2 separate regions of the Homo sapiens genome follow, and region 2 is linked to region 1. Evidence: promoter capture Hi-C in 16 types of primary human blood cells and fetal thymus (Javierre and others, 2016). All regions are on one chromosome and are shown on one strand. The core of a region is centred on a gene start or on the middle of the fragment in contact, and the rest is flanking DNA. Distances in the headings are between cores, read along the strand shown.

Region 1 (7,687 bases), core at 1,385-3,884:
GCGGGGCTGGTACTTGTGCAAGGACTGTAAAACCACCATCTGTCCGGCGGGAAGAAAGGGGAGCGCCGGGTGGCGTGTTAACGCGGTCGCTGTGCGCGTGGCTGTGTGCGCCCGGCTGCGCGCCCGGGCCGGCGGAGGCAGCCTGCAGCCCGCCTTCCAGGCTAACTGACCGCGGGACTCGCCTGGCTGGCGGCTGGCTGGCTGGGGCAGACCGGCTTTCGCACCTCTGGGAGCGAAGATAAGCCGGGGCACCGGAAAAAAGGGGGAAGCCGACCGCCCGATCCTCAGGGCCCTTCTCCTAGTCCTCCTGTAAGGAGGAACAAAGATTTCCACAACCTGCAGATCTTGTGGGGTTTCTTCTCAAAATCAATCAGTATTAGTACTTGGGAAGGTCGGGCACTCCAAAATTGGGCCGACGGAGGTGTTGCCAATGAGAACAACTTTACAGATTTAATATAAATTTGGAGGGTGGAAATACAATTTTTAAGTCTTTTTAATGAAGCAAAGAAACGTGTATCCAGTTCCATATGCTGCTTTACACTGACGAACTGGATGTCAGGGAGGAAGGGGTGAGAGAGAGAGAAAACACGAGCGCTTGAGCCACTGACCTGCCCATTGTTATTTGAAGCTCCTTTGTTGTTCGTAAGTTTTAATTTTCCAAAAGAGATTTCTTGGCGCATCCAGTGAGCCCCAGTGTTGGGGGAATCCGGATGCATATAGACCCGATTTCCTAGAGAAAGAAATACATTGTTTACATATGCCCCTGGCACTGCCCAGTCCCAGCTCCTCACCACGTAGGACACACACACACACACACACACACACACACACACATACACACACCTTACTCCACCATGAAGCCCATTAACTGGGGCTTTTTTAGGCCATTCTTTCTTCCTATTAACTGGGGGTGATTAAAATAGCTTTTGCATAATCCTCCCCCTTCTCGCAGCTCAGTCTGTCCCCCTGTCCCCCTCGTTTCCTTTTAGAAGTCATTGGCCGATCGTTTTAAAAGTCGCTCGAGCCAGTCCACAAAGGCTTTAATTAATCATTCTCACCTAAATAAGTGTCAAGAAAATGTGTTAATTGGAAGGACTTGCCTTGCACATTGGTGTCCGCTTTGCCGCAAGGAACCCATTTGCCTCCTTGAAACCTCCAGTGATTGGGATCCGCCAAAATCACATCCACAAAAATATTGTAATGAGCCGTGGGATCGAGACCAGAAATGTTAAAACTTAAAAAAGGAAACATGCGCCTATTTAAATTAAGGGGTGGGGGGAGAAAACAAGGAAAAAAGAAACATAAATGTTAAAGATTAAATGCAAGAAGCGGGGCGCCAGTTAGCAAAGCAAAACTTGTACTTGCAGCAAATAGGCGAATATTTGCTGGATTAGAAAAAGGGTGGTGGGAGAAGAAAAGAAGTGCAACCCAAATCAGGGAGAGCGGCGGGTGAGCTGGAGTGGGAAGGTGGCAGTTATCACTGCCCAGGTGGAGAGCGAGGTTGGCGACCTGCGTCTCCACCTGTCCGTGCATGCCAGTGTTGATGCGTCCCTCCCATCGCCCAGCCGCTGGCCAGGGCTCTTCCTTTTTCTTGCCTTCCTCTGGCCACTGACTGGCTCTCCCACTATGTTCCTAGAACGGGGTCCCCCCCACCAACATCACCCTGGCGGTTATCCCTTCCACTTTCCCCCTTTCCAAAACTAGCCAACTCTAGGGCGCCTTCCACTCCGCTCCCGACCCCAAATCGTCGCTGCCGCGGCAGTCACAGCCTAGGTGCACTTGTCCCCGGCTGCGCCTAGAGCAGCGGCAGCCAAAAATGTAGTATTACCTTCCCTGTTTGGTGATGATCATCTCCGTTTGGTGCCGGTGAAATTTCAGCCAAAGGGGCCTGTTGCACAGGTACACCTGTGCTTTGCCGGGCACCAGCCCCGGCTGGGTGGAGGAGAACTGGTAGAACGGAGCTCCTTGGTAGGAGTGGCCGTACTGCTGTGGGTAGGGGTAGCCGGCCGTGGGGTATCCCTGCGGCGAGGAGTTGGACAGGAGGCTGTTGTAGGCTCCGTTGGTGATGACCGGGTGGTGGGCCATGTAGCGGCTAGGGCTGCCGATGGAGAAGGCGGGGTGCGCCGGTCCGTGCTGGCCGGGGTACGGGAACATGGCACTGGGAGCAGTGGCCGCAGACTGTGGCTGGCTGGACTGAGAGAGGAGGTAGCGATCTGCAGCAGAGCCATCGAAACTGTGACGAAGCTCAGAGACCCCGTCCAAGACAGGAGAGAGTTTACTTCTCTGGACGTCCCCTGGTGAGTCCTTGGAGTCAGGAAAATTGTCTGTATCTGACTGATTCGTCATCCCCCTGGTAATTTTTTTCAAAGGTGAACTTCTCTCCAGGTTGTCAGTGGTCGAGATAATGGGATGATCGTGCAAGACAAGCTCGGATCCGCCTGAATGTGGGTAGCTGCTGCTCACATTGAGAAATTTCTTGGAGAGCATGATAGAAGGAGAAAGGCAGTGCTCCAGCTGCATAGCTCTAGAACCTGAACACTCGCCCTCCCGTCCCTGGTTTTTAAAGTCCTATTTATCATAAACTAGAAATCCACAGACCCCCTCACTAGACAGAAAGCACTTCAACCAGCAAATGCTTCTCAAAGGTTTGATTTACTTTTTTTTTTCCCTGGGAGAAGAGATTGGCCAATTGACACTATGCAGCAATCAGAAAAGGCTCACTTTTGATCTTGCTGCTTGTGCAGCCGATGAAACGGCTCCTGCCATTGGTTAGCTGCTGACAGTAATTTAATTAGATAGACATTAATTAGGATAATCACCTGGCTCCTGGTAGCGACGATCATGGCAAATTGAAGGGGATGATTTTATTGTTGGCTTGGGGGGTGGGGAATGTGTGTTGGTTTACGTGAGCACTGTTGTGTCACCTTTAAGCTCTGTGACCACTGCTTTAGGAAGATTCAAAGATGTGGAATTTACTAAACATTTCCTACCTTCCCCCCCTTCCCCCCTTTAGAGCGGAGGGGCGGAGGAGGGAATTCGACGATGCTAGGAGACTTTTCGGATCTGAATGAGCCAAATATTCAGTTGAATGTAACGATTTCAAGTGCAAAGTATACAAAGCGCGAGCCGGTGGCCTCTTCTCGCCCTGTAAAAGTTCCAGAGTCTGTCTTTTCCAGCTAATACAAAAGCACACAACACCTGAGCTGGTGCTTTGTGAGCAGATCCTACATGTCCTCGGCGCCCCCACCCCCACCTTTTAAACTGCAAACATAAATAAATAAATCCCTGCTGCTGAGAGCCACAGCGACAAGCAGAAGGGGGGAGGAGAGGGGGCGAAAAGCAGCAACTCACCCACCAATCCACCCACCTCAGGAAGGTTCGGTTTCTTGGTTGAGTACAGAAACAGTGACAATCTATGATCTCCTTTTTAAGTTTTGAAATAATCATAAGCTGTCGGGCTGAAATGCCTTAATGTATTTGCAGTGATGTTTACCGGCTCTTTATTAAATATTTTATCAGCGCACTTGGTTGCAGATTATCTGAAGAACATCTAACTGGGGGCAGGCGCCATGCATCCTTCTCGTCCCTCTGCATTTCCTTCTCTCTGAGGTACTGGCTTGGCGACAGGTTCAAAAGCCTCGCCAGGAAAAGAGAGGGCCGAGTCCCCGTGCAAATGGGCTCGTCAGAAGCGCTGATCTGGGGAGACAGAGTGGAAGTGGTGTCAACACAGTAATCGCTACTGAAAACGTGTGTGTGTGTGTACGTGTGTGTGTTTAATGTTTATATAATCTGGAGGGGAGAAAAAGCATCCATGCCAATAATTTTTAAAAGGAAAAAGAATCTAAAGAGGAATAGAAAAAAACCAATTTAAAAAGATGTTGGCACAAATAAATAGCACGAGGCCCGAAGAGACCCCGAGGTGTAGGGAGGAAGTCTCCCAGCACCGGCTCTACAGAGGAGCCCAGCCCTCGGCCTGAGCCAGAGGGCCAAGAGCGGCAGAGGCTTTTTATCTGCCCAAAGCTGCCTCCCGCGGCCCGGCGCTCGCTGACCTGCCCTCCCGCGGCTTTCCTCCCGGACGCCGAGCCGCGCGGGAATGAGCAGGAGGAGCGCCGCCCAGAGCTCCGCTCGGCCCCGAGAGCTGGCCGGCCCGAGGGCGGGCTCCGCCCGGGAGACTGAAGGAGCAAGGGGTGAGCTGCGTCTGGCGCAGACCCCAGGGGCACACGCTCTTCCCGGGCTGGAGGAGCGGCCTGGGCACCTCAGCCGGGGGAGCCTCTGGCTTCGAGCGAGCGCGTCTGTCCTACCCGGGCCGGGGCAGCTCCCGGAGTGAGAGCAGCGCCTGGGGACATTGGGTGGGTCCTGAGCATGGGCGGAGACGGGTTATCCAGACTCGCCGCTTCGCCACTGTGGTGCATTTTCAGAGCTGCGCCTCGGTGGGCCGAGCGGTCAGCGCTGAGCCGAGACTGCGCCCCTCCAGGCGGGCTGAGCGCCTTGGCTGCAGAGGGCACCAGCTGCGGCCTCCATCAACGCGCCGCGGGCAAGGCCCTGCGCTGGCGGCCTGGGCAGGGCAGGTTGTTGACCAGATGTCCCAGACTAAAGCCGAGACAATTTTCTGGGATAAAAAGAGAGCCAGACCCATTTTTCCTTTCGAAAGCAAACCTCAGCTCCTGGCCAGGAAGCTTCATAAACAAGCAGTCTTAGCTGTTGAATCGTTGGGGTGCGGGGGAGGGGAGTAGGGGATGCCATTTGACACTTGTTTTTCTGCCCTTGACCTTCTACTGCCATTTGCCCTCATGAGAGGCTTTTGACCTCTTGACTACTTTTGGCTACTTTTGTTTCCTTCTTTCTCCATCTTCAACTTCTCTGTCCCTGAGTGCCTCTCCCTCCGGTGCTTCGGAAGACAGTACTTTCCTCCGTTCTCAGTGGGACAGAGCCTTAAATGTGTAGAGGTGAGACATCACCTGGGCTCTTTTTGAGGCTTTGCCATTCTCGACACCCTAAACTGTTTTTTTTTTATGCTAAATTGAAATGTTAAGGTGTTAAAGGATAGAAAAGGGAAAGAGTGCACCTCCTTCAGAGTTTTTAAGGAATTGAATTGATGTGCTCTCTGACCCACTTTGGATTATCAGTACCAAATTCAGTGATTGCTCACATATAGGGTATGCCTTGAATTTATATATACTAAGGAAAATGAAGGCTTTCCTCAGAATCACCACATGTGCCTGTGAACCGTACTTCTAAAAGAAGGCCAGGGCTTCTCAAACCTTAAAGTGTATATGAACCACACCAGGATTCTTTATTATGATTCAATAGGCCTGGGGTGGGGCTTGCTTTCTGTATATATAACGAATTTCCATAAGACCCAGATGCTATTGGTCCAGGCAGATGACACTTTGAATAGTGAGGCCGGAGCTTTCAGTGCCCCCGTATTAGTCTGAGAGAAAAGCAGGGACATTTCTGCACTAGAGACAAACAGTTTTGTTTCCAGAGCTGCTTTACCTCTGCATGATGGAGGGGTAATTGCGTGCACATGTGCGCGCATACATATACAGTCTTAAACAGCTTACTAAGTTTGTGATTAAATGCATCTTTTCAGTGCCTAACTGGGCCTGGGACATCAGGCTGCTGCGAAAATAGCTGTACATTCCAAGACAAAGGTGTTCACTGAGCCTTGCCTCTTAGGGCATCTTGATTTTGATCGACTCCAAATCTACAAAAAGTAATGTAGGTTTTTGCTAGCAAAGATTTTGACAAGGTTCTGAAACTGGGAATGTCACCAACATGAACTAAGTGAGAGTAAGTGGTGTGTGGCTATAGGGAGTCCAGGAAGATGGGGTGATCAAATAAGGGCAAAAAAACAGGCAAGGTAAGCCTTTCCAGTCACAGGACTCAGGATATTTTCAGAGGACTAAGTAGAAAACAAAAACAAAAACAAAAAAACCCTTTCAACCCAAATATTGAGAATAGTTCTTGAAATGTTAAGGCCTTCTTCTGAGGGCACTGTACCCCCCAAAAAATCATTGACTAGCACTCATTAACAACATCTGTGAAATAAGTTATAGAATCTTATTTGCAAAGGGAAAAATCATATCCAAAAAGCCTGCACACAAGTTTGAATTAGGCAAAAGAAAATTTCACTAACTTCCACTTATATTTGAATTTTAAATGGTTAAATGTAATCCCAACAACTTAAATTAATACATATTACATGTCCTACATAAAATATACTGTCACTATATCTGAAACAGTAAACCACAGGACAAGCAAGAAATGCTCAGAATACTTCTTACTCCACCAAAAAAGATACTGTGAAACATACTGGGAATTTAAGCCATTTTGACTTTCAGTTTCTGGTAACTTCACTAGGGAACCAATAAGAGCCTAGACTTGTTCCAGTAGGACAGTAATTTGATCTATCACAGCACTCATAACAGTTCTAGTAGGTTAAGTTAAATTGCAAGTCCATGTAAAACATTCCTTTAATGAAGCTACAGTAATACTCTCACCATATTTTCACAAGGGTGCAGACTAGAATTAGATCTTTGTCTCTGTATCTTTTGCCATACAAATGGTATAATCAGTATGGTTCTGAACCGTAAGTAATAACAGGGGCAGTTACTTTTGTACATCACATTAGAAGTTGGTATTAGCCATTTTTTTTTCTCTATTAGAAAACTGGGTAGTCCTAATTTAGAAAAGATGAGACCAAACAATAGCAAAATTATTGCTTATAAGCTTATATTAAACTCACATTATGACTACTTTTCTCATTTTGCTTTTTAGACATATACTTTCTGTGGCTATTTTAGATGAAAGTCCAGTAGAGTTTGCAGCAGCCAATTCCCAGTTTCAAAACTGTTGGTAGAAATGTACTCTTTTAAAACATGATAAAGTCTAAATTAAAATTGCTCCCTTTTCTTTGTAAATGTACTCTTCCAAAATCCTAAAAGTATGTTTATAAGATAGTGAGTATACAATATTTAGCTTATGACAAATGCTAATAAAATGTCAACATTTTTTCTGAGTTACTCACTAATTAGGTAGCCACTCATTAATGGAAATCATTATACATCTGTGAAGTTTTATCACACTGATGTTTTATGTGTTGTAAGATCTTAAAATGCAAACGGAAACATATCTTTGTGTGAGATTTCTAGACCACTGTCAAATGTTATTCCATCAATCCCACCCATTGCCAAAAAGATCTCAGGAGGCATAGACTGTAAATGTATTTTATTTTGTAAGTGACAATCAAAATATATTTGTGCTACTGATTTTTTCAAATATTAAATGGGATCTTAACAAAATTTGTCCACTTTGATGTATTCATGTATAACTTTAGAATCTGCAAAGACCCTGACTAAAGAAACAGAAGTAATTGCACAACTGAGACTGAAGGTGTTACAGTGCTGCAAATGATGCCAGATGTCTTACATTTAGCCAAGTACACCTTCAGAGGTCCCTTGATTTTGAGCATTAGGAACAACAGAGGAATATACACTGAAGGCATCATTAATAGCGTTTTTCGTTGCTTTATTTAAATACGACAGTATCCAACATAGCTGCTAAACACTGGACAATATTTGAGGTCATAAGTACATCCACATGTTCCTCCAAATGACGTTTGGGGTCCTAAAAGAACAAAAATGAGGAAAGAGAAAACAGAACCATATTACTGGTAGATAAATTA
Region 2 (7,743 bases), core at 4,080-6,579, 5.1 Mb after region 1:
TTGCAGAAATGTTTCCAAGATACAAACAGATCTGTGAGGGAAAAGTTTAATTTCATTGCAATATTTTGATCACAGAGTTTTCCAGTACAGGATACAATTCCATCTCGCCAGGTCCTATACAGGGGAGTGACACCAGAGCACTTCTAGGCATCGCGCGTGTTGCGCGTCTTCGAGCCACCAGTTCCCCGCCTCGCGTCGCACGCTCGTCCGTTTCCTTTTGTATCCGCCGCGCGGCAGCGCCGAGGTGCCGAGAGTAAAGGCTGGGGGGCTCCCTGCCTGGGCCTCGCCTCTCTCTGTGGAAGACGCGCTTGTCTCAAGCCCCGATGCTCTCAAATCCAGGTCAAAAATGGAGACCGTTTCCCTCAAGGTGGAAGGGGAAAGGAGAGTATCTATTCTTGGAGATTTTAAAACTTTTTCTCAGTATTATTTTCACTATTGAATAGAGGTCTGGAAGTGAGTTTCTCATATATTCTTCTCCAAAGGAGGTTGTAAGGTCCCCTCTCCATTTGTCCCCGCTGTCAGAATAGGAATGCTTGCATAGTGGCCGCACCCCGGAATTTCTCAGGATTCCAAGCTTCCCAGGCAACTATGGGCTGGGACTGACTCAATTTTGGAGTCTCATGGAGGAGGAAGAGGGTTTGGGGTCTCAGCCGACGCCCAGTTAACCCTTCTTCCCCATAGGGCTCAGCCACAACTTAAAAAAAAAAGCGCACCCAATTCCAAGTCTTCGGGAAAGGTTCTGCTTAGATCGGTGCATCCGACAGAACTCGAACCCGAGCAATCACGTTTCGCACCCCTGCATTTATTGTGTTCAGTCGATACTGGCTGACTGCTCGTAAAGCAAGATATGAATTCCAAACAGGTCATCACTTTTTAGTAATTCGTTTTTAATAATAAAATGAACATATGGAAATCCCCATTTTACTTTTAAATTTTGCTAGAAACCAAAATATTGCACATAACTATTTAGGATGGCAAGACTGTGATTTAAAGTCATTTTCCTTTAGTATGTTCCCCGAGACCATTAGGAGCGACAGCTGGGGCCGCAAGAAAGATCTTTCCTCCGACTTTGACTTTGCCTTTCCTTAGGAAAAGTCCAGCTTCCGTCGGAGGGCGCCTGGTGGGGCGGTCCTGACGCGGGAAAGCAGGGCCCCACCCCACGCTGGGGGCGCTCGAAGAGAGCGGCAATTTTGTTCCCTAGCCGCGAAGTGCGCTCTGGGCCCTGCAGACAGTGGCGGGAGAATTCCAGAAAGCAGGGTTCTTGCCGCGTACTCCCCACCCCCACCCCCACGCCTTCTTATTAGTCACCCCCCAACCCCTCCTCCCAGCATAGTCTTATTTCGAGGCTTCGGAATTACTGGAGAGGACTTGTGTCCGCGATCCGCCCTGCGGCGAAAATGGAGACACAAGCCCTCCTGCTCTGCCCACTGCGTTTTGGAGACGTAGTTTGACTTTGCGGCTTGCAGTCGTAGACTTTGCGGAGAGAGCCTTGGAGCAATTAGGACGCATTCACTTGGGTGAACTTTGTTTCCTCGGTGTCCCTCCCTTTCCTCCCCAGCTGCTCCCTGCGTCTTCCTCAGCTGTTCTACACCCCCCCGCCCCCCACCCTCAGGGCGAAGGCTGCAACAGGCTGCCGTCGCCTCTAGGTCGCGTCTGTTGCGCTAGGGCACGAGCACAGGAGGCGGAGCGCGTCTCCTGCTTCTCCCTGCACCCAACGATTTCCGGTCAGTCTCTGGTCTCTTGGAACGCTGAGCTGGACTGGGGCGACCTCCCACGCGACACTGGGGAAAACTCTTTTTCTAGTGGTGAGGGCGCACAAAAGGGCGGGGCAGAGGCGCGTCCGCACCTCGTGGAGGTCTAGGAGAGGGGCCCAGACGCCCATGCCACAACCATGCTCCACACGTGTGCTCACGACCCAAAGCTCTGAAGATAGATTGTGCGTTCCCGCCCTGCTTTCAGGTCTCCTCGCAACGCATGTAATGAGCCCTAGGCCTGCGAGCGCTGGAGCGAGCGTCTAGTCAAGTGGCCAGATCAGGGCTGCGCCTGTAGGGGCCTTGGGGCCGCCTGTACGCTTATCTTCCCGCGGCTGGGAGCGCTCCTTCTTCTCTACAAGATGCTGACTGCGGGCCGCTCGCTGCCCTCTTCTCGGCTTAGCTGAACCCTGTCGCGCCGAGTTTAACTAGACACAGCGCCGAGCCGGCACCTGGATCCTAGCAGAGCTCAACTTCAACGCTTTTCTCCTCATTTCTTCTTCCCACACTTAATCTTTCTCACTCCCATTTTTTCTTATTTCTATCTCAACCTGTGTTTAGATAAACTAGGATTTCCAGGACATGTGTCACCCGTTCTAGCAGATACAATGCCCAAGTTTCTGCTAGAGACGTCCCTGGTACAGTAGAGGGCGGCTGCTGCGAGTGTGAGAAGTCTTTCATCGGGTACTAGAGGGACTTCCAGAGGGATTGAGTCTACCACAATTTCTTGGCTCTGGAAGCTTGGACAAGAGGATTGTTTTGACAGACTCAAATTAAATTGGGATTTCGAGAAGGGTAAGGACAGAGAGAGGACTCCTCATCAATAAGCTGCAAATAGGCCAGTGTTTTTCAAACTGAGGGTCCTGACCCATTAGTGGTTTTCAAAGATATTATATTGGGTTGCCATCAGAATTTTCTTCTAAAGAAATGAAAGAATAATAGAATAGAAATTATGAGGGCTTTGCAGGATAGCAAAAATATAAGACGTCTAAGCATTGTTTGCTGCAATTTTTCTTGGGTGACACTATGAAATATATTTATGGGGGGGTCTCAGTTAAAAAGGTTGATAGTGTCACTACTGAGGACCAATTGTACATGAAGTGAGAGAAAGGGCTGCCTTTATTGAGAGATACTGATAAGGGAATCTCAGCACTGTGGTTTTCTTTTCTTTTCTTTTTCTTTCTTTCTTTTCTTTTCTTTTCTTTTTTTTTTTTTTTTGAGATTGAGATGGAGTCCTCGCTCTGTCGCCCAGGCTGGAGTGCAGTGGTGTGTTCTCAGCTCACTGCAGCCTCTGTCTCCCTGACAGGTGCGGGCACCCCACCCAGCTTTTTTTTTTTTCTTTTTTGTGTGTTTCTAGTAGAGATGGGGTTTCACAGTGTTGGCCAGGCTGGTCTCAAACCCCTGACCTCAGGTGATCCACCTGCCTTGGCCTCCCAAAGTGCTGGGATTACAGGTGTGAGCCACCATGCCTGGCCTACTACTGTGGTTTTCTGGCCAGTCCTCTTTCTTCACTCTGGTTTGTTCGTTTTTGGTCACCACTCCAATGGACTTCTGTATCTCTTTATCCTCTGGCCTGTTATCTGCTTGAAGCCAGGTGGGTGTCATAAGGAAGGGCCAGGGGGACAAGCACATAAGCACATGTAGCCACCCCCTTTTCATCTTCCTCAGCAACCTGGTACCTGGGAAGAGAGTGAACAGCAAAAAAGGCATAGAGGAAAGCTAGAGAAAAGGGATGGTAGTGAATGTCCCATTGTCCATGTCACAGGCCTTCTCATTTATATGCTATTGCCAAACAAGAAGGAGGAAGCAAAAGCTTTTGGGGGAAATGGGTAGAGATAGGGATGGATAAAGATAATGAACCATACTGTGAATGATCAGGTGAGCAGGGACTGATAAGTTGGAAGAGGAGGAGGCAATTTAGAGGATTTATTTAATCAGAGTCCTAGAGTTGAAGGCAGAGATGAGAAGGAGAGGACTAAAATGGCCAGGGTGCCAACAATAATGTGAATGAGTTTAAAGTAAGAAGAGATCTATGGAAGTGAATAAAAAGGGCACATGGAGGATGCTGGGTGCTGGGCAGGCAGGTAGGTATAAGGTGAAAGTTGGATATAGAGGCCATAGCAAGACTATGTTAGGAGAGTGTGGCTCTAAGTATGGGAAGCTCTGGGCTAATGAGGACCACACAGATGTTTCAAGGTGTCATAAAGGAGTCAAAAGGAACAAAATCATTGGCATGGAAACTTGCATTTCCTATAATTCCATTCTAGTCAGAGAGCTTGTTTCCTAAGAGGTGCTGCAATCTTTAGGCAGGGGTGATGTGGACTCCTTCAAAGATTTGGGTCATTGTGAAGGGCAGAAGCAGGTGGCAGACGGAGGACACATTCCATGGTTTCTGACATTCCTCCATTACAATAACTCTGTCTACTACATGTTGCAATTCCAGATATCATATCATATAATCATCTCAACTCCAAATATGACGTTGGCACTGTTATTTCCATTTTACAAATGAAGAGATGAGGTTGAGAGGTATCGTTTATTATCTTGGCCTATAAGTACATGGAAGAGTTGGAATTCGAACTGAGAGCCAGGATATGAACTTACAAGTGCCTTGCTTTAGCACTGCCTGTCCCAGAAGGATTGTACCTTTCTGCTTCTCCAGAAACTAACTAAAGATTTTCTCACCTGCTGAGAGTTGAGGATGTTGCTTCAGGCATGTTCAGACTTCTGGAGGGGAGCATTGACCTGAAACCACAGTGGGGTAAGTGATAATAGCATAATCTTCTTCTCGCTGAAATTTTAAAGAAGGGATTATTTTCATTGCTTTTCGTAGTTTATGGGTGAAGGAGTTCTGAGTTGCTTGCTTTGCTGCCCAAGAAAAGAGTGGGAATGATTGCTGCGTGTGTTTATGCCATTGAGAAAGTCATATTAAAAGTAGTAAAAAAGAAAACTGTTTTTCATCCTCAAGCTGTTTGAATTCCCTTATATTAATCATGTGAGTTTTCAGCAAGCTTCTAGGTTTCCTATCAGGAAAACCAAATTGCATATTAGTTAGTTCACAGTCCTGAGCAGGCCACTTTGTAAAAATGAAAAGCTGGCTATGCATGAACCTTTTATTCTTTCTTCTACTTCTTCTATATTTGTGGTAGACAGTGTTTAGCTGTTATTAACATTTTCTTAAGAGCTACTCTCACAGTCTAACAAATGGTATAAATAGATTTTGCTTAGACAGTCAAGCAGAGAGTAATATTTATTCAGAAGACTGTCTGCATCTAACTTGGTGTGGTCAAAGGGTGGCAAAAATAGTCTTATTATATTATAAAATTTATTAGAATATACATACTTGACAGACAAAACATAGTGGATTTAGATCAGCTGTTTGCTTATACAATAGATTTTGTTCGTCTTTTGACATTTAATTTAAGCTTCACTTATCTGAGGGCTGGAAGTAGGATAAGTATGTTCTGCATGTGTTATGCTTCTTGTTTTATAAGACTTACTTGTCTGCAGTTATCCGGAAATAATTCATAATCAGTGATTTAGGGACAAGGAAGCCTTGTGACATGTTCTCAAAGTGTCTTTCTGAAATGAAGTTCTGAAAAGTTGAATTATGGAGACCCTAACAGGGGTTTCTATTTTTGAGGAATGAAGATAGCTACATTTGCTTTCTTGGTCTTTTGACTAATTATCCTCCCTGCATACTGAATTGATACAGTTAAAAACAAGCTTCTAACAAATCCATAATGAATCTATTCGGTGCCAGGAGTCTGTGTTCTGTGTAATTGTCCTGCTCTCAGAAATGCTGGGCAGAATTCTCTACATGGGCCACATGTGTGGAAATGACATAGAAAACATTTGACACATCAGTGACTTATTTTTAATATATCTGAGAAAAATAAAGTCCGCTGCTGTAAAATCTGCACTTGTAGATGTGTGAGCCCTAAATAACCTTTAAAATTGGTCGTGGTGTGGTGGGAGATGTTGGTATTCATGAGTGTTTTGACATGTTTGACATTTTATGTATGGTGCACTGCTCTGTCTGTCTTGCATTTTTTCCCCAATAGTGCATATTTTCTTACTAAAATTCAGCTTTTGGTGTTTATATTTGGGGTTTCCAAGTCTGCTTATTGGATGAATGATTTGCTTGTTACTTATGCGAATAATGTTTTAATGAATTAGGTTACTATTGATTTTTACACTATAAGCATAAAAGAGGAATTCATAAAAAAGATAATTTTGATTTTAAAAGAAGCAATATATGATAAAATATATTCGATAAGTGCCACATATCTCCAACTTGCAGTGGTCCTCAGTTAGTAAATAAGGAAAAGCAATTCTATGGAATGATTATGCTCTCTGGAGCCAAGGAATTTGTGCACCTGAATCTTGGGTAGTGAATATAGATTTTAAAAATCTGTCTGAGCAGCATTTAAATTTGTCCTCCATTTATATTTGGAAGGGACAAAAGGGTCCCTAGTAAAGAATTGTCAATTGAACTGAAAATCTGGGTGGACGGTAAATATAATGTAAAAAATACATACCTAAGTATATGTAGAATCAGATGTCAATAGTGTTCACTGAATAGGATATATGTTTGATACTGTGGTCATCTCCTTTCGTATCATCTTCTATATTAATTCTCTAGGTAGAATTCAATAAGTGAGTGTAAAACTAATCCTTGGTGAAGCATTTTTCAAATTTATGACTACGATACTACTTTTTTTGAGTATTAGAAAAGGCAAAAATTTTGATTGAAAAGCTTTTACTATCACGTTTTTTCCTTTGTGATAAAACCGAATGCTATACAGTCTATTCTAATTTCTATCCTAACTTGACTAATGATAGATTTGGCTGAAAGTTTCATAATTCAGAATTAAGATGTTGCTAATTACCTTTTCCCTCTTTAAAGCCCATGTTACTAATAATGTGGCTTCCCTTTAAATGTTATTCTCTTTAAGACTGTAAGTGACTCTGAGGCTTTGACATTTTTTTGTCCCAGATATTTCTCCTGTTTTTAATCTCCACTTGTTGTCACATGCCAGGACAGCACTGTACCTTCAGGTGGGAGGACAGAGGGGCAACTTTCTTTGTCCAGGGTGTCAGGGCTCTTTTCCTCTGGAGCGGAAGTTTTATGTGCACTTTCCTTTGTACCCTTTCCCTGGAGACTAACACATCACCTCCATGACACATGTAGCAGTTGTGGCCTGGGGTTTGACCAGGATAGCATAAGTTTACTTTCAGTAAGCAGAAGTATTTAATTGCTTCTTACAATTCAAATGGTATCAAGAGACCAACTTGCATGCACTATCTAAGAGTACCTTCTCATGTTCTGTTCTTGACTAACAAAGCCTCAATGTCTCTCACATCCCTTTGAGGATCTTCTTGAGTAAAATTTCATTCATAAAACACAAAACAACATAAAACTTTAACATTGAAAGTGCAGTGCTGCTCTTTTAAAAATATTATTTTGATTTGTAGAGCAATGTGAATGATTATAGTCTGACACTAACAAGATTGTGAATCTCATTTTCAATGTTATGAGTTAGGAAAAATGCAAGGCTTTTCTTGAATGTGCAGTGTTTTGTATGCTCAACATTGCTTTCATCAAAATATGTACTGTTGATTCATTCATTACATTCCTTGTCTGTACTTAACTGAAAAGCAAGAAAAAGAAAATCAAGTGCTTGTCTTTCCTTGAGTTAATTTCCCTTAACATGTATTCAAAATAAGCATTCCAATGTAGCATCATGTAAAATAGTTATAGAATTTGATGATTATAGGAAAGTTTGGTGTGGGTGAGAAATGCATCATTCATTAGATTGCAAGTAGCAATGTATGAGAGAAAGGCAGGTACTATAAACAAGAAGCTATAAATAAGCACTTTTCCTCCTTTCTGTTACTTGAATACAAATACTTGCATTACGTGGACATATTCATAAATTTTGATGATAACTTAGTGAAACAGGACCATAAATATGGAAACTAGGCATAT

The links. Contacts are between HindIII fragments. The CHiCAGO score rates a contact against its expected background, and 5 or more counts as called.
Region 2: a fragment that was not itself captured here is called in contact with the fragment with the promoter of TBR1 in region 1 in 2 of 17 cell types (total B cells and naive B cells); the score reaches 7.9 in total B cells.

What each region holds. Positions count from the first base shown.
Region 1 is chr2:161,411,244-161,418,930 of GRCh38, reverse strand. TBR1 (T-box brain transcription factor 1) reads right to left here and starts at 2,634. Exons shown (of 6, transcript NM_006593.4): 1 at 1,829-2,634; 2 at 1,101-1,255; 3 at 609-730; 4 at 1-39. The coding sequence starts at 2,520. It overlaps PSMD14 (proteasome 26S subunit, non-ATPase 14), which reads right to left. Exons shown (of 12, transcript NM_005805.6): 12 at 7,214-7,629. The coding sequence ends at 7,531. RefSeq lists enhancers at 1,886-2,508, 4,270-4,419 and silencers at 3,930-3,979, 4,050-4,219. The HindIII fragment of the contact is 4,993 bases long and covers 1-4,678 here.
Region 2 is chr2:156,314,196-156,321,938 of GRCh38, reverse strand. No RefSeq gene overlaps it. Among named protein-coding and RNA genes, the nearest start is that of NR4A2, 15 kb to the left of the region's middle. The HindIII fragment of the contact is 301 bases long and covers 5,179-5,479 here.